Linked DNA regions of Homo sapiens: all the other regions are linked to region 1. The links are contacts of gene promoters, found by promoter capture Hi-C in blood cells and fetal thymus (Javierre and others, 2016). All regions are on one chromosome and are shown on one strand. Each heading gives the region's core, a stretch centred on a gene start or on the middle of the fragment in contact. The rest is flanking DNA. Distances are from core to core; before and after follow the strand shown.

Region 1 (6,058 bases), core at 3,183-5,682:
CTTTCACAAATGCATTGTAGAGTTTTCCAGAGGTGGTGTGGCGTGTGAGATAAGAACGGACTGGATACAGAAGCAGATGGGGGCTCCAGCGGACCCCTATCAAGCCAGACCCTAAAGAGATTTTTAGAATGTACAGCAGACCATCCTTCTCAGTAAATTTTGTTTGTTTAGAAAATATACCCTTTTTCCTATAAAATGTTATACATATTAATATGTGATAGGCTTATTGTCGTTTAAAAAGGTAATATTCTAAACAATTCTCAGTTAACTCTGTTTCAGTAAATATTGATATAACCCACATTAGTCAGATCTCTTTGGGAGTTCTCAATTCTTTTTTTTGAGATGGAGTCTTGCTCTGTCACCCAGGCTGGAGTGCGGTGGCGTGATCTCAGCTCACTGCAGTCTCCATCTCTCCTGGGTTTGAGCGATTCTCATGCTTCAGCCTCCCAAGTAGCTGGGATTACAGATGTGTGCCATCACGCCTGGCTAATTTTTGTATTTTTAGTAGAGCTGGGGTTTCACTGTGTTGGACAGGCTGGTCTTGAACTCCTGATCTCAGGTGATCTGCCTGCCTCGGCCTCCCAAAGTGCTAGGACTACAGGCCTGAGTTACTGAGCTTGACTGGACTTCTTAATTTTTAAGAATCTGTTATAAAAAGACTCTGAGACTAGAACATTTGAGAACTGCTGCCTTGATCCAAGAGGCTCATTCATTGTTTTGTTATAACCTACATACGGGATTCCCTTTCAGACTATGCAGTCCAGATTTTCCATGATGCCACAAAGCATGGCAAATTCGAGTGCAACCTGGAAGCCTGCACGAGACTGCCCATGATGTACATTGACGACTGCCTCAGAGCCACCCTGGAGGTCATGGAGGCCCCAGCTGAGTCCCTTTCCATGAGGACCTACAATGTCAGCGCCATGAGCTTCACACCCGAGGAGCTGGCCCAGGAGGTCCTCAAGCACGTGCCGGAATTCCAGATCACATACAACGTGGATGCCGTTCGCCAGGCCATAGGTTCGTACCCGGTGGCAAAGGCCTTTACTGTGAGTCCCTGGAGAATGTAAACCTTGGAAGGTTGAAGAGAGCATAGATCCTTCCCAAGGGTCCAGACACCTTTTGGAGAAGGAGCCTAGCCCAAGAAATTGTTGAGCCCAAGCTAGCAGATGCTTTGATTTTGGGGAATGATATCTAAAGTGGGTGAAATCATTCCATTCCAAATAAACAGCTTGTTAGCCTTTCATCATTTTTACAGTTTAAACATAAAGCAAGGAAAAATAGAAGCAACAGAGGTAGTATGAAAACAGCCCCAGGTTTTCAAATACTGTAACTTTGCCAATTTGTGGATGGAAGCACCTCTTTGAGTATAAAACTTCTTATGAAGTTGTGTGAGATTTTGATAATGTGTGAAAATTCACAGTGCCTGACGAAAGATGGGTTAATAGTCTTCGGCCCTAGGAGGGTGACTGTGCATAATGGCGGTTCTGCTTTACTCGAAGGAATTTCCTGTTTTGTACCTTGTACGGTAGACCTTTATATACAATGGTCAAGACCTTTTTGCAAATCCACAACCTGAATAACTTAAGCTAGTCTTGCGTATCTTTTCCTAGCGGATGGTTGGCCGATGAACTTTGATGACAGCAATGCTCGGAAGGACTGGGGGTGGAAACACGACTTTGATCTTCCAGAGTTGGTGACTGCCATGTTGAACTTCCATGGTTCTGAAAGCAGAGTTGCCCAAGCCAACTGAAAGAATCTGGAAGAGGAGCTCCTGTGTCCTGGTCCACTGTCAAGGGAGAACTGTCACAACTCCAAGGTTATAGACTCCAAGGAGCCTACATTATTTGGAACTGACTCATTGGACTAAATTTTGGCAGCTCATATTGAACTGCTAGACAAAGAATGGAGTTAACATTTAAGCATTTTCAGAATGTTGTAGGTATGGTGGTGGGACTTTTCAGTTTTTGCTGTTTGCCTGAACTTGTCTAAACACATTCCACAGAATAAGGCTTAAGTCATCATTAGTTTCCATTTCCTTAATTAGGATGAAGTGACTATTTCTGGGAAGCTGGGAGTATGTGACATTTGTGTTTAATTAAATTCAATTTAAATATTCCTCTTAAGACTCGATTATTCTCTTGACTAAAGACCAAAGATTACATTTTAAGGACTTTCAAAGAGGTACTCCTCATTTATAAGTATTCTTTACTATCCCAGCGAAAGTAAAACATGTTTGGTGTATTCATCCCATGTCTATCACATTCAAGATATTTTGACACTGCTTCAAAAATTATAATTTCTGGTTTTTCTGTAAGATGCTAGATCTGTGGGAAATTAAGAATTCAAAGATGATGTAACCAGCGAAGGGTAGCCCTGCTCTTATTTTGATTGCCCTCCTATTAGTGAGCTAAATGTAATTCCCAGGAACATAATTCCCTGACCTGGCAACATCAGCATCTAGGGAGATTGTCTAATACACAGGTTTCTGGGCTACATCCCTTTAGATTCACTCATTAAGTGCCAGGTGCCACTGGTTATTTGAATCCAGCTGAGGCCCACTAGTCAGACCAGTTTAGACCAATGCAGTTTTCTAAAGAGCACTTTCTTGTTGCATCTTTTTTTTTTAAGATATTCCTGGGTTGAGCTTTCAGAAGGGCTACTCTAAACCCTCTGATGCAATTACCGTATAGATACATACAGGTTAACTTTTTAAGTTGAAGTTAGGCCAAATCAATTTCTGATTGTATTTTATGGTAAGGGAATGAGTGTGTTCAGAAAATGCTTTCAATCCGGTCATTTAAAAAAATATTTCTGGTGCAATACTGTATAGACACGTACAGGTTAACTTTTTTCCAGCGACCTCGGAATGTACTGCATGTAAAATCACTAGGAAGTGAAACTTCCAGTTCCACAGATTAATCATGGATATATTTGATAACAGCTATCAAGGATTAAAAGGCGTTTATTTATGTTGCATGCTTAATAACAAAATGTTATGCATTTGGAGTTTTGAACTGTTAGGTCAAAGCGTGGATTTTTTTGAAGGCATAACTGGATTTAAAATCTATTTGACTATTAACTGGAGAACTTTTAGGTAATTGAATTGTTTAACAGTTACATTACTGTAGCTTTTTCCTCCACTTAATAAGGTTTATGTTTGTAGATTTTATTTTTTTGTTATTTTTCTTTTGGGCTGCTCTTGAGAGGCAGGAAGATTTTATTTTTTAAAATCAGAAAGTTAGTAATGAATTCTTTTTTTGAAAGTTTGAGATATAGTTTACATACCATAAAATTCACTCATTTATAGTTCTGTGGTTTTCAATGTATTAAAAAGTTTTGCAACCATCACTATAATCTAATTTTAGGCCATTTCATCACCCCACAAAGAAATCATATTATATAAGCCCTTCCCACCCTCGGCAACCACTAATGTACTTCTTCTGTCCCTGGGTTTGTCTGTTCTGAGCATTTTATGTAAGTGGAATGTGGTTGTCTTTTAGTGGCTTCTTTAATTAAGCAGTCCATTTTCAAGGTTCATCCATGTTTTAGCATGTATCACTACTTCATTTTTTATTGCTAAGTAATATTCCATTGTATGAGTAATCCTCTTATTTTCTCTATCCATTCATCCATTGAGGGACATTTAGGTTTTTTGCACTTTTTAAGCTATTATGAATAATGCTGCTGTGAACATTTGGGTAGATAATTGAGTTTTAAAATGATTGCTTACTGTTTATAGTTTAAAAAACAGTTCTTAAGTTTGATTAATTTATTCTCAGTTATCTTAAAGGAACAAGCAATTCTTCCCTTTCATAAGATAAGAAGCAGCAACTCGAGTGACCTTTGTCTCCTAGACCCTAACCTTCCAGCATTTCTACCAGGCTCCTAGAATGACCTTTAATTCGGATCATTTGGAGGGGTTTGTTCCAAACAGGTTCCTTGAATCTTTCCCAATCTGTAAACACACCTCCAGGAGATCTCAAATAAGAGTGAAAAAATAATGAATGCTTCAGCTTCTTTGGATGATTCTTATTCACTGACATCTTTGTACTCCAAGACTAGAATTAGAGTTGTCCCTTCTGTCTGAACACTCAGTATCTGGTGCACATCTTGGGATCCCGGAGCCCATCAATGTTTTCCTGTAAAATGCTTTCCGTTCTGTTGGGAGAAAGGGTTTTTTATGATTAATTTGGAAATAACCCAAAAAGCTATTTGAAGGAAAAGTGGGTTTAACCACAAAAATAGTTTATTTATAAATAAAAAAGAAAGAATACAAAGATTGGCTTTGTTCTGATGTTTTACACAGGCTACCGGTGGTTATTAGTTTTCTGCTCACATGTTTGTGTGTGGCGTTGCTGGGATGTGCCTTGTGTTGCTACACAAACAGCGATCCCGAAGTCTGCCAGCAAGATAGATGGCCTGGAGTCCAGAACAGACTGGATTAGTGAAAGCTACTGCAGTGCTTTGGACACTTACTATGGTAGGTGGGAGATATTTAGTATTTTTTAATTCACATAGGCCAAATCACCAATTTGTGATTGTATTTTATGGTAAGGGTGTTCAGAAAATGCTTTAAATTCTGTCATTTTAAAAAAATGTTTATTAAGAGTTCAGACAATTTAAAAGATATATAATAAAGTTGTCTTCCCCTCCAAACCCAATCAATAACATGTTAGCAGTGTAGTGTGGGACCCAGTGCAGTGGCTCACACCTGTAATCAGTACTTTAGGAGGCTGAGGCAGGAGGATTGCTTAAAGCCAGGAGTTCAAGACCAGCCTGGACAACATAGCAAGACTCTCATCTCTACAAAAATAATTTAAGCCAGATGTGGTGATGCACACCTGTAGCTGCTACTCACGTGGCTGAAGCTGAGGGATCACTTGTAGCCAGGAGTTTGAGGCTGCAATGAGCTATGCTTGCGCCACCATACTCCAGCCTGAGCCACAGAGCGAGACCATCTCAAACAACAACACACAAAAAAACTAGTGTATACCTTTTATTTTCTCCTGTGCTTATACAATCTAGGAGTGGAAGGTGAAACCTTTTTCTTTTCTTTTACTATAAAAGTAGTGCTAAGACAATATTGTCAAAAGTTTTGGAAAAGACTCACTTTCAATTTTTGCCATGTCACATGGTAGCTGTTTTAAAATATTCTCCAGTCCTCTATGCGTTACAAAGAACTTACATGTAGTTTTAACATTTGCCATTTAAAGATAGCTGCATAACTCGTTGAATGGAGTATCATAATGATGTCATTCTATTTAATTGCTGAAACCTAGAAGTACAATTACTGGGTCACAGGGCGTAAACACCTACTTGCCTCTTCATTTTATGTGGTCAAATTTATCTTCGGAACGAGTTGGATTAATTTGTGATGAAATTCTCGACCATCAACACCTTCCTCTTGGCACATATTCATGGACCTCAGTATGGTTTACATTTGTTGAAAAGTTTTATTTTTGTGGCTGGGTGCAATGACTCATACTTGTAATCCCAGCACTTTTGGGAGGCTGAGGCAACAGGATCAGTTGAAAGTTTTATTTTTCTAAAAGGTTTGAAGAATATAAACTTCATTTTTTGCTGGAGAATCTTAACATTCTAATACAAGAGCCGTGAGTGAATAAATCCTAGATCTCACATAACCGGATGATAACTGCCTCTAAATCAGTGAATTGCTTCCAAAAATCACCGGTGAGAAAGGAATCTTGTTTTTTAATGATTTTTTTTTAGGGTAGTCACTTTAAAAAAAATTATTTCATGGCACTGTTTTTATAGCTTTAGTATGTTTGTCTATAAGGTAGCTAAACAGGCCACCCCTTACCTTCCAATGTGAAGATCCCAGAAAACTTTTTTTTAGCCAACTTACATATATAAAGTTTAGGATTGTAGATGAGAGGATAAAATAGACACCTGTACTATTAGTTGCAGGTGTTTCAGATTTGTTAATCTATTAACCAGCATGTGGGCTTTCCCTCTTCACATTCGCATTTCAGGCATGTCACTCCGACTTCGTATTTGATCTTGGTGCCCCCTTTGGCATCCCCTAATAGGTTAA
Region 2 (6,008 bases), core at 1,399-3,898, 380 kb after region 1:
TATATACCAATAAGCAAGAAAAATGTCCAACTATGATATGGCAGCCCATACAGGTATATTAAAACAGAAAAAATGAATGAATGAAGCTTTTTTTGCAGGACAGTTAGCAAATTCCAAGAACTGAAAAAGAAATTTAGTGCCTTTGACTCAGAAATTCTACTTCTCAGAGAGTATCTTAAGGAATAACTAGAAATGCACAGACTTAAGTAAGGAGCAGTGTTTATGAAACAAGAATCCAAAACTGGATGAAGATTAATAGCTGAATGATACTAGTTAAATGATGGCACCTTTATATGATGGAACAATGGTATATGAGTGTATAAAGAATTTTATAAAATGAGTTTATAAAGAATTTGTCATTGGGAAAATGTTTTGGTATTAAGCAAACGACCCACACAGACTCAGAATTATATAGCTTGGCAAAAATATGGATCAACATATGAAAGTCTCACAAGGCCGGGTGTGGTGTACTCACCCAGTACTTTGGGAGGCTGAGGCGGGTGGACCATTTGAGGTCAGGAGTTTGAGACCAGCCTGATGAAACCCCGTCTCTACTAAAAGCACAAAATTAGCCGTGTGTGGTGGCGCATGCCTGTAATCCTAGCTACTTCGGAGGCTGAGGCAGGAGAATCGCGTGAACGTGGGAGGCAGAGGTTGCAGTGAGCTGAGATCGCACCATTGCACTCTAGCCTGGGCAACAAGAGTGAAACTCCGTCTCAAAAAGAGAAAAGAAGTCTCACAAAGGGCTGGGCACAGTGGCTCATGCATGTAGTCTCAGCACTTTGGGAGGCTGAGGCTGGAGTATCGCTTGAGCCCAGGGGTTCAAGGCTGGACTGAGTTATGACTGCACCACTGTACTCCAGCCTGGGTGACAGAGTGACCCTGTCTCTAATAAAAAGAATAAAATAAATACAGTCTTACAAAGGATACAATAGAACCAAATGCTCAAAACATTAGTGACAATCTGGATTTTCTTTATATATTTTGGCACTAATTTTCCTAAGGTAAATATTTATTATATCTTTATGCAAAAGGAAAAGTAATCTTACTAACTTTGAAAGGGAAAAAGAGAGAGCAAGGTTTGCGTGGACCTCAGTGTGAGGTGAGAGGCCTAGGGCTGGAGGCTCTGAATGTGATACCTGCACTGAAATCCAGGTGTCCCGCCTCCCAGCCCAGGACGTGGGTGATCACTGCAACTTTTTCCTCTTCTCGTGCTCAGGGGAACTCTCAGTGTCTGGGATTAGGGAGCAGGGGCTGAAGTCAGAGTGAGGAAGAGCAAGAGCAGCCCGAGGTGGTCTTCTCTTTCCAAGGAAAGGGCATTGTTTCTGTGCGCTCTAGATTCTCAGATGTGAGAGCTGGGCATAAACAAAGAATTAATCCTCTGTGTCTTTTCTTGTCTGTTCCCCCCAACTCAGTAGATATGTTTGACGACTTCTCAGAAGGCAGAGAGTGTGTCAACTGTGGGGCTATGTCCACCCCGCTCTGGAGGCGAGATGGGACGGGTCACTATCTGTGCAACGCCTGCGGCCTCTACCACAAGATGAACGGCATCAACCGGCCGCTCATCAAGCCTCAGCGCCGGCTGGTAAGCACGTGCCTCGCAGCCTCCTCTGGGCACCTGGCTGCGGAGCTCTCGCCTTGGTGGGACATCCTCTGGTTTTGAATTTTGGAACTTGAGGGTGTGCATCGGGGATTACGTGGGTGAGAGCCCCATAATAATTCTCACAACTTTAGAGTTAGCTGGAGCCACCAGAATGATCCAGGCTGTCTAGTTCAACCTCTTCGGCACACAGAAACTGAAAGTGAGGCTCAGAAAAGCTAGTGGCCTTGCCCACAGCCACTCAGGTACTGAGTCTCCCATCTAGAACTCTGGAACCAGAATCCAGGTTTCCTGGTTCCCAGTCCAGTGTTGACTGGAGTGTCTCCTCCACCCACACCAACCCTGCAAGGAAGGTCACCTCAGAGGCTGGTCTCTACCCTGACCTCAGTTGATCAGTTGATAAATCCCAAAGCCCAGAAGTGCAAGCAGCTTGTGTTGGGCCCCGTGGCTAGGGAAGAGTTTGGGCCTGGGGCTTGGCTCCTGGCTTCCTGCTCCTTTTTAATATAATTTGATTCTGGTCAACACCAACCAGCTTGCACTATATTAAGGAGGGAAGAACAGAGGGGATAAACCTGGTGCCTCCCTTTCTTGAGGTCCCAGGGCCATTCAGACTTTGATACCATTTGGACACCGTGATTCCTCACTCTCTGCCTGCCCCCGGCACCTGCAGCCCCGGTCAGTTCTCCTCTCAGGAGAAGCTTTCCTGCCGGCAGTGCCCGGCGCTCACTGGTTATTCGCCTGACGGTGAATGATGGTTAGGACTGGAAACCAGGTCTCGATGCCCACGTTCGCTCTCCTCGGGCAGCAGAAACCTTGTTCTGATTTATTCCTCGCAGTGGCGCAGGTGACAGGAGAGTTAGGTGCCGTCACAGGTCAGAGATCTCATGCAGGGTCGTTAGGGCCCAGCCCTGCCTCCCGTTAGGGAGGCCCAGCTCCGCAGCCACACGCGAGGTGGAAGGGCAGTGCACACCTTTTACTTGGACATGAAGCATTTGTTTCCTGTCTTGCAGTCCGCCTCCCGCCGAGTGGGCCTCTCCTGTGCCAACTGCCAGACCACCACCACCACGCTGTGGCGCCGCAATGCGGAGGGCGAGCCTGTGTGCAATGCCTGCGGCCTCTACATGAAGCTCCACGGGGTACGTGGGTCCTGCGCCCATGCGGCATCCTTGCCTTCTGATGCCCATCTCTCAGTCCTCCCTTGTCTTCTTCCTTTGTACTAGCATTCATTTTTCCTTCTTAACAAAGAGACTTAGATTTGGAAGGGGCTTTCAACTACTTTGCTGGCCTCTTCCGTCCTTTACATTGTATAAGTGAATTTTCCGTTTTACAGATGAGCAGGCTACATTTATATGTAGCAGTTTGATGTGTAACAAAGGTGACGTTTCGATTCAGTGGATAAGAAGCTTAAGGATAGTTGTATTGACAAAATTGGCTGTTCATTTGGAAAACAGAAGGAAAGCATGACCTCTACCTCCTACCTTAAACAAAAATAAACTTGGGTGAATTAAGGATATTACATGTAAAACATCTTTGAAATAAACTAAAAGTAAGGCCAGGCATCATGACTCATGCCTGTAATTGCAGCACTTTGGGAGGCTGAGGCAGAAGGATTGCATGAGCTCAGGATTTCAAAACCAACCTGGACAACATGGTGAAACTTTGTCTCTACTAAAAAAAAAAAAAAAAAAAAAAAAAATCTAGCTGGGCATGGTGGTGCATGCCTCTAGTCCCAGCTACTCAGGAGTCTGAGGTAGGAGGATGGCTTGAGCTCAGGAGTTTGAGGCTGCAGTGAGCTCTGATTGTCCCACTGCACTCCAGCCTGAGTGACAAAGTGAGACCCTGTCTCCAAAAAAATAAAAATATTAGATAATAAAATACTGCAAAGAAAATCAGACAATAAAAACACTGGAAGAAAATGTAAGGGAAAGTATTTATATAACTTTGGGGATGGGAGAACTTCTTAAACAAGATTTTAAAACTTTTTAGCCATATAAGAATAGTTAGATATATTTGATTTTGTAAATATTTACTGTTTGTGCCTGGAAATGATACCTAGGGAAAGTAAAGACCAATACACACAGTATCAGAAAAAGGGTTAATATTTCCAGAATTACAAGGAGCTTCTACAAAGCTCTTTAATTTTTATTGGAACATTCTCCATTATACAATATTAACAAAAAGGCAAGGTGCCCAACACTACCTACTATGGCACTATTTTTATAAATATGAGGAAGAATATAATTTATAGGTGGTTGCTTCCACATATACAGAACACCTCTGGTAGGATATGTAGAGATTGGTCACATGGTCACATGTATGCATATATACGTACATGGGGTGCCTCCAGGAGAAAAACTGGGGTCCTGGGGAGAAGGGATTGGAAGGACACTCTTTTTGCTGTGTACCCCCTTGGTACCTTAGACGGGACATATGCAAGTCTTAATTGTTCAAATACAAGTTAAATTAAAACCAAACCAAACCAGAAACAGATAGGTCTTGTAGCCTAATAAGAAAAGAACAATTGATCTTTCCCCACTTCCCCCAAATGGGCAAAAGATATGGACTGACATCTCACAGAAGCTGCCCAGATAGCCATGAAACATGTGCACATATGCTGAATCTCACTAAAAATCAGAGAAATGTACCTGAAAATGACCATGAAAGTCCCTAGTTTGCCCATATACTTGGCAAAAATTAAAGTGTTTGCTGCTATGGATTTGGGGAATTAGATACTCTCATATATTATTGATCTGTATTTGAATTACTGCATCTATTAACTTAGTGGTATTTTTTAAGGTTGAAACCATGAACACCATTATATCTGGCAGGTCTACTGTTGGGAAACTAGCCTATAAAAAATAACCAGTACATGATGACCTTTGAACCATTTATTGCTGCATTGTTTGTGGTGGCAAAAACTAGAAACAACCTTAAAACCCCATAAAGGAATGGTTGAAAAAATTCTGCTATATCCCAAAATGTGGAATATTGAGAAGAAACTTAAAAATAATAATCTAGGGCCATGTATCTTGATCTAGAAAATGAAAAAGCACATTGCAAAGAAATATATGTAGCATGACCCCATACTATGAGTGTCGAAGGTGCATTAAACAGACATACATATGGATGGGTGGACAGACCAGTGGATGGGTGAACACACACACACAAATATACACGTATAGGTGTATTAGTCTGTTTTCACACTGCTGATAAAGACATACCCAAAATTAAAAAGTGGCTTAATGGACTCACAGTTCCACATCGCTGGGGAGGCCTCACAATCATGGCGGAAGGTGAAAGGCACGTCTTACATGGCAGCAGGCAAGAGAGAATGAGAGCCAAGCAAAAGGGGTTTCCCCTTATAAAACCATCAGCTCTCATGAGACTTACTCACTATAGTGAGAACAGTATGGGAGAAACCGCCCCTGTGACTCAGTTATCTCCCATCAGGTCGGTCCCACAACATGTGGGAATTATGGGAGCTACAATTCAAGATGAGATTTTGGTGGGGACACAGCCAAACCAAGTCAATAGATATATATGTGTACAGATGTTTGAGAATTTTTTTAAATGTAAGAATATATAACAGGCTGTTAAATCCATTTGCCTCACTGGGATAGGATTGACGGTAGTAGAGTGAGAGGGCTGTTGTTAACTTAGTCTCATGTATCTTTTCATGATTTCTTGTTATAATGAACAAGCAAATGGCTAAAGTTATGAACATTCATAAGAAAATATTTCTACAAAGCATGTATACAAGGATGTTTGTTAATCACTGTAATAGCAAAAATGGAGGAAAGAAAACCTTTGGAAGGAAAATGGTTAAACTATTGTTCTTCAATATGGGAATGGTACAAGAAACTTATTGGGAAATATTATATAGGTATTAAAAAGATTATATTCTCAGAAAATAAAAAAATAGAATTACCACATGATCCAGCGTACCATTTCTGGATATATACCCAAAATAATTAAAGGCAGGGCCTCAAAGAGCTATTTGTACACTGCTGTTTATAGCAGCATGATTCACAATTGCAGAAAGATGTAAACAACCCAAGTGTCCACGGAGAAATGAACGGATAAACACAGTGTGATATACATACACGTAGGATATTACTCAGCCTTTAAAAGGAAGGGAATTCTGGCCCCTGACACCACATGTCAAATCCATAGAGACAGAAAGTAGAATGGAGGCTGTCGGGGGCTAGGGAAAGGGGGAATGAGGAGTGATGTTTAATGGGTATGGAGTTTGAGTTTTGCAAGACGAGAAGAGTTCTGGGGATGGTGGTCAGGCTTGCAGAACGGTGTGAATGCGCTTAACACTACAGAGCAATATACTTCAGAATGGTTCAGATGGTAAATTTTAAGTTAGGTGTGTTTCATTTTACTGCAACTGAAAAAAAAAAAG
Region 3 (6,177 bases), core at 703-3,202, 290 kb after region 1:
CTCTGCACCACGGCCCTCAAACTGCATGGAACAAGTGCATCAGTTTGTGAGACTCCGCGTCTTAAAGGCTTCTTCCATCGAGAGAGACGGTACCTGTTCTTTTCTCCTGGGTAGTCTAAACAAGCATCTTAAGAAAAAGACATTTATTGCCAAGACAATTGGAGATAAGGGAAAATCATCTGTCTGCCAAAATGGCTTGCGCTGGGCCTGAGCTGTGGCATTGTCAGAGTGATTTTAGCACAGACCCTGCTAGACATGAGCCTATTACAAATGCTAGATAAGGCCCTCGTTTTTATAGAGCTCGGAGGAGTAGAGGGGAGACGGGGAGTTGCAGTGATAGTCGCCACTGCAGATAAGGAGAATATATATTTTGTTTAACCAAACCTGTCCGTTGGCTAGAGACTCCAATGCACTGGTATCCATCAAATCCTTCTCTGATTTACACAAATCTACACAAATACCTGATTCCCCCGATAAGGAAAAGTGTAAGTCAATACTGCTCAGTTGTAATTGGGTGTTACCTGCCCCGATACTGGACTTTTTATCTGCAGCTCCTTTTGCAGGCTCGCTCCAGCTTTATCTGCCTCTTAGGTGTGACCAAATTGTCGTGTGTGCGTGTGTGTGTGTGTGTGTGTGTGTGTGTGTGTGTGTGTTGGCTCCAAAGGTTTATTCACGAATAGATCCCAAAGAAATGTCACAGAGAAATAGTGACTTGAAGTCCAAAGAGGAAAAAAAGGGAGGCCGCAGGCACATGATGGATCTGTGCAATAGTCATACGTAAGCCGCCGTGATGTCCACACCACGGAGACCCCGTCTGCTATGCATCACCCATAGCACGGGCAGCCGAACCCCAGGGCTGCCCTGATAAGAGGCCGAAACGGTGGTAAATCATCCCACACCTCCATCCCACACCTCTGGACTCAGTTTCTCCATCTATGAAAGGGAAAATTCTGTCCACTGCCAGGTATTTATCATGAGGATAAATGAACTGCATTGCGCCAAGTGATCTTGGAACAGGAAGGCTGGTGGATTAAATAAAGATTTACAAAGAATTATGTCCAAATGATCCTTATTTATGATGTGCTTGGTGAGGGTAACAGATGAGAACTCGAAGAGACCCTGGGAGAACCTGCTTCCAGTGCCTCTTTTTCCAGATGGAAAAAAAAAAAAAAAAAACAAACACCAAAATTGAGGCCCAGAGAAAAGAAGGAACTTGCCCAAGATAAACTAACCCCTTCCCCACCTCCACCTTCCTTAGCTGGGTAAGGCAGGGCTCAGGAAAGACAAGTTTTGCTACAAGCTGTCCTCAAAGCTACCCTTCTAGCCCTGAAACGGGTGTGCTCAGAAAGAATTTTTAGCAATGCAAAGAAAAATTGTAGTAAAATGTTAAGGAACATAGCAGAATAAAAAAAAAATTGCTCACATCCTATGAACTGCAATAATTGTGTGTGTGGGGGGAAACAGTATTTCAAAACATGAAAATAGTTGTGTTTGGAAGTGGGTTTTATTTTCAAATTTTGTTTCTATTGTTATTGCTTTGTTACTGGTCTGTTACAAATTATTAACATTACATTCTGTTTGTAAAGCTTTTGTTTTCAAGCAATGCAGCAGTGAATAAAATGTTTTAAAAGAAAGAAAGAAAGAAAGAAAAGCACTGCCTTACTCCCACTACCCAACCCCCTAATCTCATTCTCCCAGAGTAACTATTTTTACATTTGCAGGGTCTTTCCAGACCTTTCTTGGATACAAATTTGAACCTAAATGTTTGAATTTCTGTGTTTTGTATGTAAAGGGGATGGTGGTGGTGGTGGTGGTAGTTCCCTGGTACTATTATTCAACAAACAAGAACAAACCGTTCTGTGACCCAAGCCATTCAAGGGAGGCGAATGCACTGTTAGCGCCACCAGGAAAACGTGGCTTGTGAGCTGGGTGAGAACAGAGTTCATTCACCTCCCTCAGGAGAGACTTTACTCCCAGAAAGACTGATTCAGGCCAGCTCCGGGTGGCCTGGCTCCTTCCCCCCCAGCCCACAAGGCCCCCAGGTTTATTGGCCTCATGGACTCAACTAGTACCATTGTAGTCAGAGGTCAGTTTAATGGGAGGTGGCTCTGAGACAGCAGCGAATTGGTGTATTTGAGTGACTTGACAAAAACGAATAATAAGACAAGAATTCTGGAGAGAGTAGGTAGAGCTGACATTATGTCCAATATATTGTAATGTGTGTGGATAATATTCCTGGGAAATTCACCACCCTTCAGACACCATCTTTGTAAAGCATTCACTTATCTTCAACCCTGGGTTGTCCTAGTGTGCTAATCCAAGCTTTGGAACAGGACGCTATCATAATGCCAGTAGCCCTGTGTAGGATCCCACCATTGACACAGCATCCCCATCAACACTTATCCCATCCCTTGATCCCAAAACACTTGGAGCAGGCTCTCCATATTGAGGGTTTCTAGCTTTAGCAGATAAAAATGCAGGATACCCAGTCACAAGTGAATTTCAGATAAACACCCAATTATGTTTCTTAACTAGTTAGTGTTGGTATGAAAGTTAATTTCTTCAGAAACTTCTTTTATAACCAGCTACCGTATAAAACTATCTTATGAGCTGGGGTACCAGCCAGGGACCAGTGAGGAGACAGAAACTATATCAGTATTTTTAACAGATAATATAATAAAAGGAATTGTTAACTAGGCATGGAAAAACCACTAAAGCAGAAAGATAATCCTAACGTATGATGAAGGTAGAGACTGCAGAGGCAGATATTACTTGTAAAGTTGGGCAATCAGAAGAAAAAGGTTGAAATTATTAACATTTAGACACTTGGAGGAGAGGCCCATGGGGCTGGAAACATATGTCTGAGGAGGGGGTGAGTGACAGACAGTACTGGCATCTCTGACAGCATCTTGAAGAGTTTGTTTCTGCAAGAATAAGAAAAACTGGGCTGGGCGTGGTGGCTCATACCTGTAATTCTAGCACTTTGGGAGGTGGAGATGGAGGGAACACTTGAGCTCAGGAGCTCCAGACCAGCCTGGCCAACATGGTGAAACCCCATCTTTACCAAAAATGCAAAAATTAGCTGGGCGTGGTGGCACATGCCTGTAATCTCAGCTACTCAGGAGGCTGAGGCAGGAAAATCAGTTGAAGCTAGGAGGCGGAGGTTACAGTGAGCAAGTATCGTACCACTGCACTCTAGCCTGGGCTACAGAGTGAGATTCCATCTCAAAAAAAAAAAAAAAAGACAAAACTGAAAACTGGATTCAGCTGCTGCTACAAGAATGAACTGTTGCTGCCATGATAGAGAGGCTAGAGAAAAGCATTTATGACTAGGAAGCAAACGAAAGGTGTATTTCCTTCACCTCCACAAGCCTTGTAGTCTCCCTTCATTGTTGTCTGTGGGCAGAACCTGATACAGAGCCAGCCAGAAAGACAGAATGGTGGCTTATAGAATCTCAACCCCACAAGCACAAGACAGAAAACAGAAAGGCAGAAAGGTGGGTTTGAGGCAGGGACTACAGCTTAGACTTCTGCAGTGTGTAGGTAAAAATGATTTTGCTTCTTCCCTTCCAATTCTTCTGTCTCTTATTTTTCTTATATTATTGCATTGGCTAGCATTTCCGGAATACTGATGTTGGGCATCTTGCTTTTGTTCCTAACAAGCATGAGAACATCTCTTCTGGTTTTTCACAATTAAATAATGCTAGTGGTTGGCTTGAGTCAGATTTCAAACTTTTTTTATTTCAATAGCTTTTTGAGTACAAGTGGTTTTTTGGTTACATGGATGAATTGTACAGTGGCAAAGTCAGATCTTTATGCACCTGTCACCCAAGTAGTATACATTGTACCCAATAAGTAATTTTTTATCCCTCACCTCCCTCCCTACCTCCCTCTTTCTTCTGAGTCTCTAAAGTCCATTATACCACTCTGTCTGCCCTTGCATACCCGTAGCTTAGCTCTCACTTATAAGTGAGAACATACCGTGTTTGGTTTTCCATCCTTGAGTTATTTCACTTAGAATAATGGCCTCCAGCTCCAGTCAAGTTGCTGCAAAAGATATCATTTCCTTTTTTATGGGTGAGTAGTATTCCATGACATATATATTTGCTTTCGCTACTCATTAGTCAGTGGGCACTTAGATTGGTTCTACATCTTTGCAATTGAGAATTGCATTGTAATAAACATATGCATGTGGGTGTCTTTTTGATATTACTTCTTTTCCTTTGGGTAGTTACCTGGTAGTGAGATTACTGGATCAAATGATAGATCTACTTTTACTTCTTTGAGAAATCTCCACACTGTTTTCCATAGAGGTTGTACTCATTTACATTTTCACCAGCAGTGTATAATGGTCCCTTTTCACCACATGCAGCCAGCACCTATTGTTTTTTAATTTGTTAAATAGTGGCCATTCTTGCAGGGGTAAGGTTGTATCTCATTGTGGTTTTAATTTGCATTTCCCTGATAATTAGTGATGTTGAGCATTTTTTCATATGTTGGTTGGCCATTTGTATACCTTCTTTTGAGAATGTCTACTCATGTCATTTGCCCACTTTTTGATGGGATTATTTGTTTCTTTCTTGCTGATTTGTTTGAATTCCTTGTAGAGTCTGGAAATTAGTCCTTTGTCAAATGAATAGTTTGCAAATATTTTCTCCCACTCTGTGAGTTGTCTGTTTACTCTGATGATTATTTCTTTTGCTGTACAGAAGCTTTTAGTTTAATAAGGTCCCATTTCTTTATTGTGTTTGAGTCAGATATTTTTATTATATTATGGGAATATCCTTCTGTTCTAATTTTTTAGTGAGAGTTTTATTTGTTTTAATCAAGAAAGGATGCTACATTTGGTTAAATGCCTTTTCACTCCTATTGGTATAGTTGTATAGTTTTTCTTCCTTTGACTGAATACTGTAATAAATTTTATTGTTTCCTAATATTTTGTTTTATTTTTTTAGAGATGAGAGTCTTACTCTATCACCCAGGCTAGAGTGCACTGGTACAATCATAGCTCACTGCAGCCTTGAACTCCTGGGCTCAAGAAGTCCTCCTGCCTCAGCCTCCCAAGTAGCTGGGATTACAGGCATAAGCCACAGTGCCTGTCTGTTTCCTAATATTAATGACCTGGCTCCCTAAGGGAAAACCCTATTGAACATTGATATTTTCTTTTAATATACTGCTGGATTCAGCTTGCTAATATTTTATTCATTTAGAATAGTTACATCAATATTAAGAATAATAATTTCATTAAAATGACTCCAAATTTATACCAGTTTTATCCTTCATTTATCCTAAAAATATCAGGCTGGGTGGAGCAGCTCGTGCCTATAATCCCATCATTTTGGGAGGCCAAGGCAGGAGGATAACCTGAAACCAGAAGTTTGAGACCAACCTGGGCAAAACAGTGTGACTCTGTCTCTACAAAAATTTTAAAGAATTAGCCAGGCATGGTGGCACACATCTGTAGTCCCAGCTACTCAGGAAGGGAGGTTGAGGTGCGAGGATCACTTGAGCCAGGGAAGTTGAGGCTGCAGTAAGCTGTGATCACACACCACTGCACTCCAGCCTGGGTGACAGAGTGAGACCCTGTCTCAATTAAAAAAAAAAAAAAAAAAAAAAAAAAAGAGGAAAAGTTTCAAATCAGCTATCTAAGCTCTCGCCTCAAGAAACTGGAAAAATAAGAGCAAAATAAGTCCAAAGCAAATAAAAGGAAGGAAGTAATAAAGACAGGAGCGGATATCAATGAAATAGAAAATAGAAAAATAACAGAAAAAAAACAATAAAACAAAAAGCTGAAAAGACTGGGCGTGGTAGCTCATGCCTATAATTCCAGCACTTTGGGAGGCCGAGGCAGGTGGATCTGAGGTCAGGAGTTCGAGACCAGCCTGACCAACATGGTGAATGAAATCTCATCTCTACTAAAAATACCAATTCTTCAAAAAGTATAAAGTACAACCACTTACTTAATATGAAATCAGCCATTTGAATAGCCCTATAACTCTTTTTAAAATTGAAACAGTAATTAAAACTCAGAAAACACACCAATTCAACACATTTTTTCCAAGAAAAAAAAAACATTTTCCAATGCATTTTGTAAGGCCAGTATTACAGTAACACTAAAACCAGACTAACATACAAAGAAAACACTACAGCCCAATATCCCTCATTGACATAGATGCA
Region 4 (5,399 bases), core at 1,250-3,749, 340 kb after region 1:
CAGGGGCCGTCTTGAGCCCTGTCGAGGGCCTCTTGTTTTTCCACCAACGCCTTCGTTGGGCTGGGGATGGTGCTTCACTACCTCGAGTTTCTAGGGAAGGCAGAAGCCAGTGCGGGGCTGGCGACATCACAGCCCCAGAAGACCGGCTTCTGTGGAAGGGGCCGGGCCTGCCCGCCGGGGCCTCTTCTGAGATGGTGTCAGGGTCGGAGTGCGGCCTCCCCGCCATCCCAGACATCGACCGTGGCCGCGCTGCGCTGTGGGTGACGCGGGAGGACAGCGGGCTCCCTGGAGAGCCGGGGGCAGCGGCCTGGGATTTCCTCGTGGAAGGTGCTGGAGATTGCTGAGTTTCTGCGCCCCTTTCCTCCCCGCCCGCCCTCGGGCCTCCGCAGGGAACTGATTACAATGGTTTGGACCGCAGACCTTCTGGGCCATTTGGCGGCCCAGCTGGAGGATCCCTCGGGGTAGCTGATGATTTTCCCGTCGGGGGTCTCACACCGAGAACAAAGGAGGGATGGACAAAGGAGACGCCGGGGAGATGCGCGGAACAGGAGCCGGCACTGTGCGGGTGCCACCCGGCCGAGCGCGTGGGCGCATCATGCGGGCAGCGGGGGGGGGGGCGCACACGCCCGGTCAGTGTCCGGGAACATAGGGACCTCAAACGCGCTTGTTCATGACACCCGAGTTAAATGGAGACTTTGCAGTCGCTTGCACGCGTGGAGCCTCCTCTTCTCGCGTGGGCCAGGGTTGGAAATAACCGTTGTGGTAGGTTCCATGCAGTGTTTCCATCGGATGTCAGACGGGGAGGGACGGCAAACCTGTCTCAACCTCCACTGATTCACAAATAAACGCAGCGGGATCTGAGAAGGGGCCTGAGTACACGGGCCGGGGGAGAAAGGGAAGTGGCAACCCCTAGTTCAAAATGCAAACGACCTCTGGAATTTCGGGAAGAGACGGAGGAGTGAGTTTGGATTGAGCCCACCCTGTGGGGGAGGGGAAGCCCAGGCTTGAGAAGCAAAGCTCGCGTTTATTGACCACCTACTAAGTGCTAAATCCTTCTGCATTTGTTCTCACTTTGAAGAGTAAAGGCTACCCCTGCCAGGTTTCCAGTCTTGGGCTGGCTCCGAGAAGGGCCTAGGCTTTGAAGCGCTTTTAAATTGTCCTCTGGCCCTGGGTGGCCAGGGAAGGTTCCCGGGGGTGCAGCCAAATACACATCGCCGGCAAACTGATTAACCCTGAAAGTGGCGCCGAGGCCCGGTCTGTGGCTCTTGGTGTTCCCCTCCCCCTCACCCCTCTTGGGGGAGCCAGACGGCCACCCCCAGGGGAGGAGGGGCCCGGCCGAGCCTCGCCGCGACTTTTGCGAGATAGCGCGGCGACATGGCCACACAATGGAGCCCGCAGGCGGGAGTGCGGGGCGGGGCGCGGCGCCCTGGCCTTGCGCGCTTACGGGGTCCTCTCCAGGGCCCTCTGGGGCCTCTGACTTAAAATAGGGAGGACTGGGCCAGGAGATCGAGACCATCCTGGCCAACCTGTTGAAACCCCGCCTCTACTAAAATACAAAAAAAAAAAAAAAAATTAGCGGTCGTGGTGGCGCGCGCCTGTAGTCTCAGCTACTGGGGAAGCTGAGGCAGGAGAATCGCTTGAACCCGGGAGGCAGAAGTTGCAGTGAGCCGAGATCGCGCCACTGCACTCCAGCCTGGTAACAGAACAAGACTACGTCTCAAAAAAAAAAAAAAAAAAAAAAAAAAGGACTGGTCCAGGGAGAGTTTGCTTTGTAACCCCGACAATCCTGGAGGGAATTTGGTGTTTGGTTAAGGAAAAGAGAGAAGTTAAAAGTCATGAGTTACATCCAGCAGTGTAAAAACGAAATACCCGCCGGGCGCGGTGTCTCACGCCTGTAATCCCAGCACTTTGGGAGGCCGAGGCAGGCGGATCACAAGGTCAGGAGTTCCTGGCCAACATGGTGAAACCCCATCTCTACTAAAAATACAAAAATTAGCTGGGTTTGGTGGTGTGTGCTTATAGTCCCAGTTACTTGGGAGGCTGAGGCAGGAGAATCGGTTGAACCCGGGAGGCGGAGGTTGAGTGAGATTGCTCCACTGCACTCCAGGCCTGGCGACAGAGGGAGTATGTCTCAAAACAAACAAACAAAAAACCGAAATACCATGTGAATGCACACAGTATTCAGATTTTGAAATGTCAGCCATGCCATGTAGAGGTTGCTGATGAAGTGATGTTTCCCAAATTCCCATGTCAGCAAATGGCAAGCTGACCTCCCTGTGCGTCTCTCTGCCAAGAACTGCCACCTGCCTTCTCTGGGCTCTTCCCGGATAGCTTATGAAGTCCACAGCCTTTGAATCTGGCCTAGAGGGTGGTTTTTCTCTTCTGCACCCAGCCAAGTGTTTTAGGAGAGGTGCGGCTCTCTGTGAGGGAACACAGGGCATGTTGAACTTGTTGGCATTCATAGCTTCAGCGTGTTATGCAGGTGGCACTTACATAAAAGCAACTGAAATTAAAAGCAGTGCATGTGGCCAGGCGCAGAGGCTCATGCCTGTAATCCCAGCACTTTGGGAGGCTGAGGCAGGAGGATCATTTGAGGCCAGGAGTTCGAGGTCAGCCTGGGCAACATAGTGAGACCCCATCCCTACAAATCATTTTAAAAAATTAGCCAGGCTTGGGGTGGCATGCCTGTAGTCCCAGCTTTGGAAGCTGAGGTAGGAGGCTCACATGAGCCCGAGGCCACTGCACTCCAGCCTGGGTGACAGAGTGAGACCCTCTCTCAAAAAAAAAAAAAAAAAAAAAAAAACCAGTGCATGTGAATGTGCTTTTTATATGTTCTTCCCATTACTTGGGCTCTCCTACCTGCCTGGCAGCTTTAGTGAGGACCAGCATCACATAGTAGCTGACCCTGAGTCATGGAGGGAAGATGAGAACTGACCCCAGCTTTCTGAGGAGTTGCCACTGAGCCCTAAGATGGCCAGACAGTGTGGTGGGAGGAGCACAGGGTTTTAAAGTTGGGCAAACCTAGATTCAGTTCCAGGAGCCTCGTGTCATCTTGGGCAAGTTACTTACCTCTCTCGGTCTCACCTCTTTTTCTGTAAAATGGGATCATCATAACAATTTTTAGTGTTGCCTTAAATTAGAAAAGTAAGGTAATACTTTTGAAGAATTTGGCTTTAGCCCTTCATAAATGATGGTTATTTTATTGAATAGCCACTCACTGTCATGTAGAGTTACCAATTTTGCTGGTGTGCCCAGGACTGAGGGTTTTCCCAGAATGTGGGATTGTTCGTGGTAAACCTGGGACAGTCCCCAGTGAACGCAGATTGTTGGACACTCAATGTGAAAATGGGTGCATTACCCATCGTTGTGGTTTGGTAATGAGCTGAGAACAAAGAAGAAACAGCAGAGGAGAAGCAGCTGAGAGCAAAGGAGAAGCAGCATCATTCTTCCCTCTGCTGAGATTCTGGAAGTAGTCATTTAAGTGCTGCCAGCTTCATTTGGTCTTGAAGGGTGAGTAGGAGTTTGTCAGGAAAAGAACCAGCAATTTTTTAAAAAAAGAAATATTGACCATTTTATAGGAAAAAAAAGAAAGACAAAGAAAAAGAGGCCAGGTGCAGTGGCTCACACCTGTAATCCCACCCTTTGGGAGGCTGAGGTGGGAGGATTGCTTGAGCTCGGGAGTTTGAGACCAACCTGGACAACATAGTGAGACCACATCTCTAAAAAAAAAAAAAAAAAAAAATTAACTGGGCATGGTAATGCATGCCTATAACTCCAGCAACTCAGGAGGCTGAGGTGGGAGGATCGCTTGAGTCAGGGAGGTTGAGGCTGCAGTGAGCCGTGATTGCACCACTGTACTCCTACCTGGAGAACAGAGCAAAGACCCTGTCTCAAAAAAAGAAAAAGAAAAAGAAAGGATATACTCTGCTTTACTAATATGTTGTGTAGTACCATGAAATAATACAATGCAACCTGGCCTTTGATTTAAATAATATATTTGTCACAATAGGTAAAACTATACAGACTAATTAACCTTAACTCAGAAACTGTTTTTAATTTCAATGAGGAGAAACAAGAGAACACTTTTTTTTTTCTATGTAACTGCTGTAGTTTTAACAATATCTTGCCATAGTTCTTATGTTGGTTATGTGAATAGGGCAAAAATCAAAACAATAATAAATAATAAAAGTTAACAGGGGCCTCTGTAAAGCCCTGAACTTAGGTTGGAAGAAATAAGTGTGGCCTGACTGCAATGTATGTGAACTTTAATTCACTCCAAGTTCCATATGAGCTACGACCCTAAGACAAATGTTAAAATCATTAATTAGGCTGCATGAATGGAATTATGTGACCTTACTGAGGGCAGGTACAGAGTCTTACTCATTTTTAAGTGCCTGGCACATGTTGGGCACTTAGCAAATATTTGCGTAGGGATCTTGGTGGTAATTGCCCCAGGACTCTGCCCTGCCTGGGTCCAACCACACAGAATGGCTGCGTGAGTCCTTTAAGAAGCAAACTGGAGAGCCCTAGGGGAACGGTGGGCAGGATGGAAGAGGGTTCTGGAAACTTCAGGGAACCACTGGAGGAAAGCAGGGCTTTTAGGCTGGAGAAGTCACTGAGTGGATGAAAGCAAGATGGAGTATGACTGTGTCCAAATTTCTGAAAAGCAAAAAAAAAAAAGAAAAAAAAGACCATGACCTTTTAACTCTGTGTTAGTGAAGGTGAGCAGATATTAGATGTGAGAAGAACACTCCTAGACAATTGTGGTTGTGTGGAAATGCAGTATAGAATATGGCTTGTCTTCATCATAAACTCCTGGGCGCTGGAAGCACTTGTGGTGGAGCTCTGCGGATAGTTCTTGCCTTGCAGGGCTAGGATAGGATCTGCATGTGCCTGTGAAACGGACGTAGCCGGAGAACGTAGCTGTTTCCTTTTAAAGAACCCAGTCACGGTGGTTACACGTGTATCTCCATATGGCAAAATTGTGGAGCTGTGCTCTTAAAATGGGAGTCTTTTATTGCATGTACATTACACCTCAGTGAAGCTGATTTTTATACCAGTTAATGCTTGTGAGTACTTAAGGCTGAAAAGGAGACCGAAATGGAAATAGATTGTAAATATGCCTTGACGGATATATGGTGGTAGGTGTTACTGGAAAGGCTAGGAAAATATATTTAAGTATGGAATAACAATTATTTTGTGTAATGGAGACATAAGCAATTATGATATTCTCCAAGGATTTCAAAAAGTTTGAATCATTTTTAGAGTCGATAAAAATAACAACACAATGAAATACATGTACAGTATATCACTGTGTTATTCAAACAATTTATTTAAAAGAAGTTTTGCCCCATTAGGGATGGAGTGGGGGCATTCAAGGTGTTCTCAGAGTTTTTTTA

Evidence for each region. Contacts are between HindIII fragments. The CHiCAGO score rates a contact against its expected background, and 5 or more counts as called.
Region 2: a fragment that was not itself captured here is called in contact with the fragment with the promoter of FAM167A-AS1 in region 1 in 4 of 17 cell types (naive B cells, total B cells, M1 macrophages and 1 more); the score reaches 11.2 in naive B cells.
Region 3: a contact is called between a fragment that was not itself captured here and the fragment with the promoter of FAM167A-AS1 in region 1, in 4 of 17 cell types (naive B cells, total B cells, fetal thymus and 1 more). The highest score is 9.8, in naive B cells.
Region 4: a fragment that was not itself captured here is called in contact with the fragment with the promoter of FAM167A-AS1 in region 1 in 1 of 17 cell types (total B cells); the score reaches 6.2 in total B cells.

Annotation. Positions count from the first base shown.
Region 1 is chr8:11,363,970-11,370,027 of GRCh38, forward strand. FAM167A-AS1 (FAM167A antisense RNA 1) reads left to right here and starts at 4,433. Exons shown (of 7, transcript NR_026814.1): 1 at 4,433-4,483. It also overlaps the pseudogene TDH. The HindIII fragment of the contact is 6,691 bases long and covers 1-6,058 here.
Region 2 is chr8:11,747,501-11,753,508 of GRCh38, forward strand. GATA4 (GATA binding protein 4) reads left to right here. Exons shown (of 7, transcript NM_001308093.3): 3 at 1,416-1,585; 4 at 2,611-2,736. Among named protein-coding and RNA genes, the nearest start is that of LINC02905, 11 kb to the right of the region's middle. The HindIII fragment of the contact is 705 bases long and covers 2,297-3,001 here.
Region 3 is chr8:11,660,897-11,667,073 of GRCh38, forward strand. No RefSeq gene overlaps it. Among named protein-coding and RNA genes, the nearest start is that of GATA4, 40 kb to the right of the region's middle. The HindIII fragment of the contact is 736 bases long and covers 1,585-2,320 here.
Region 4 is chr8:11,708,970-11,714,368 of GRCh38, forward strand. All of the region lies in intron 2 of GATA4 (GATA binding protein 4), which reads left to right. Among named protein-coding and RNA genes, the nearest start is that of SNORA99, 6.3 kb to the left of the region's middle. RefSeq lists enhancers at 87-1,012, 1,013-1,936. The HindIII fragment of the contact is 9,957 bases long and covers 1-5,399 here.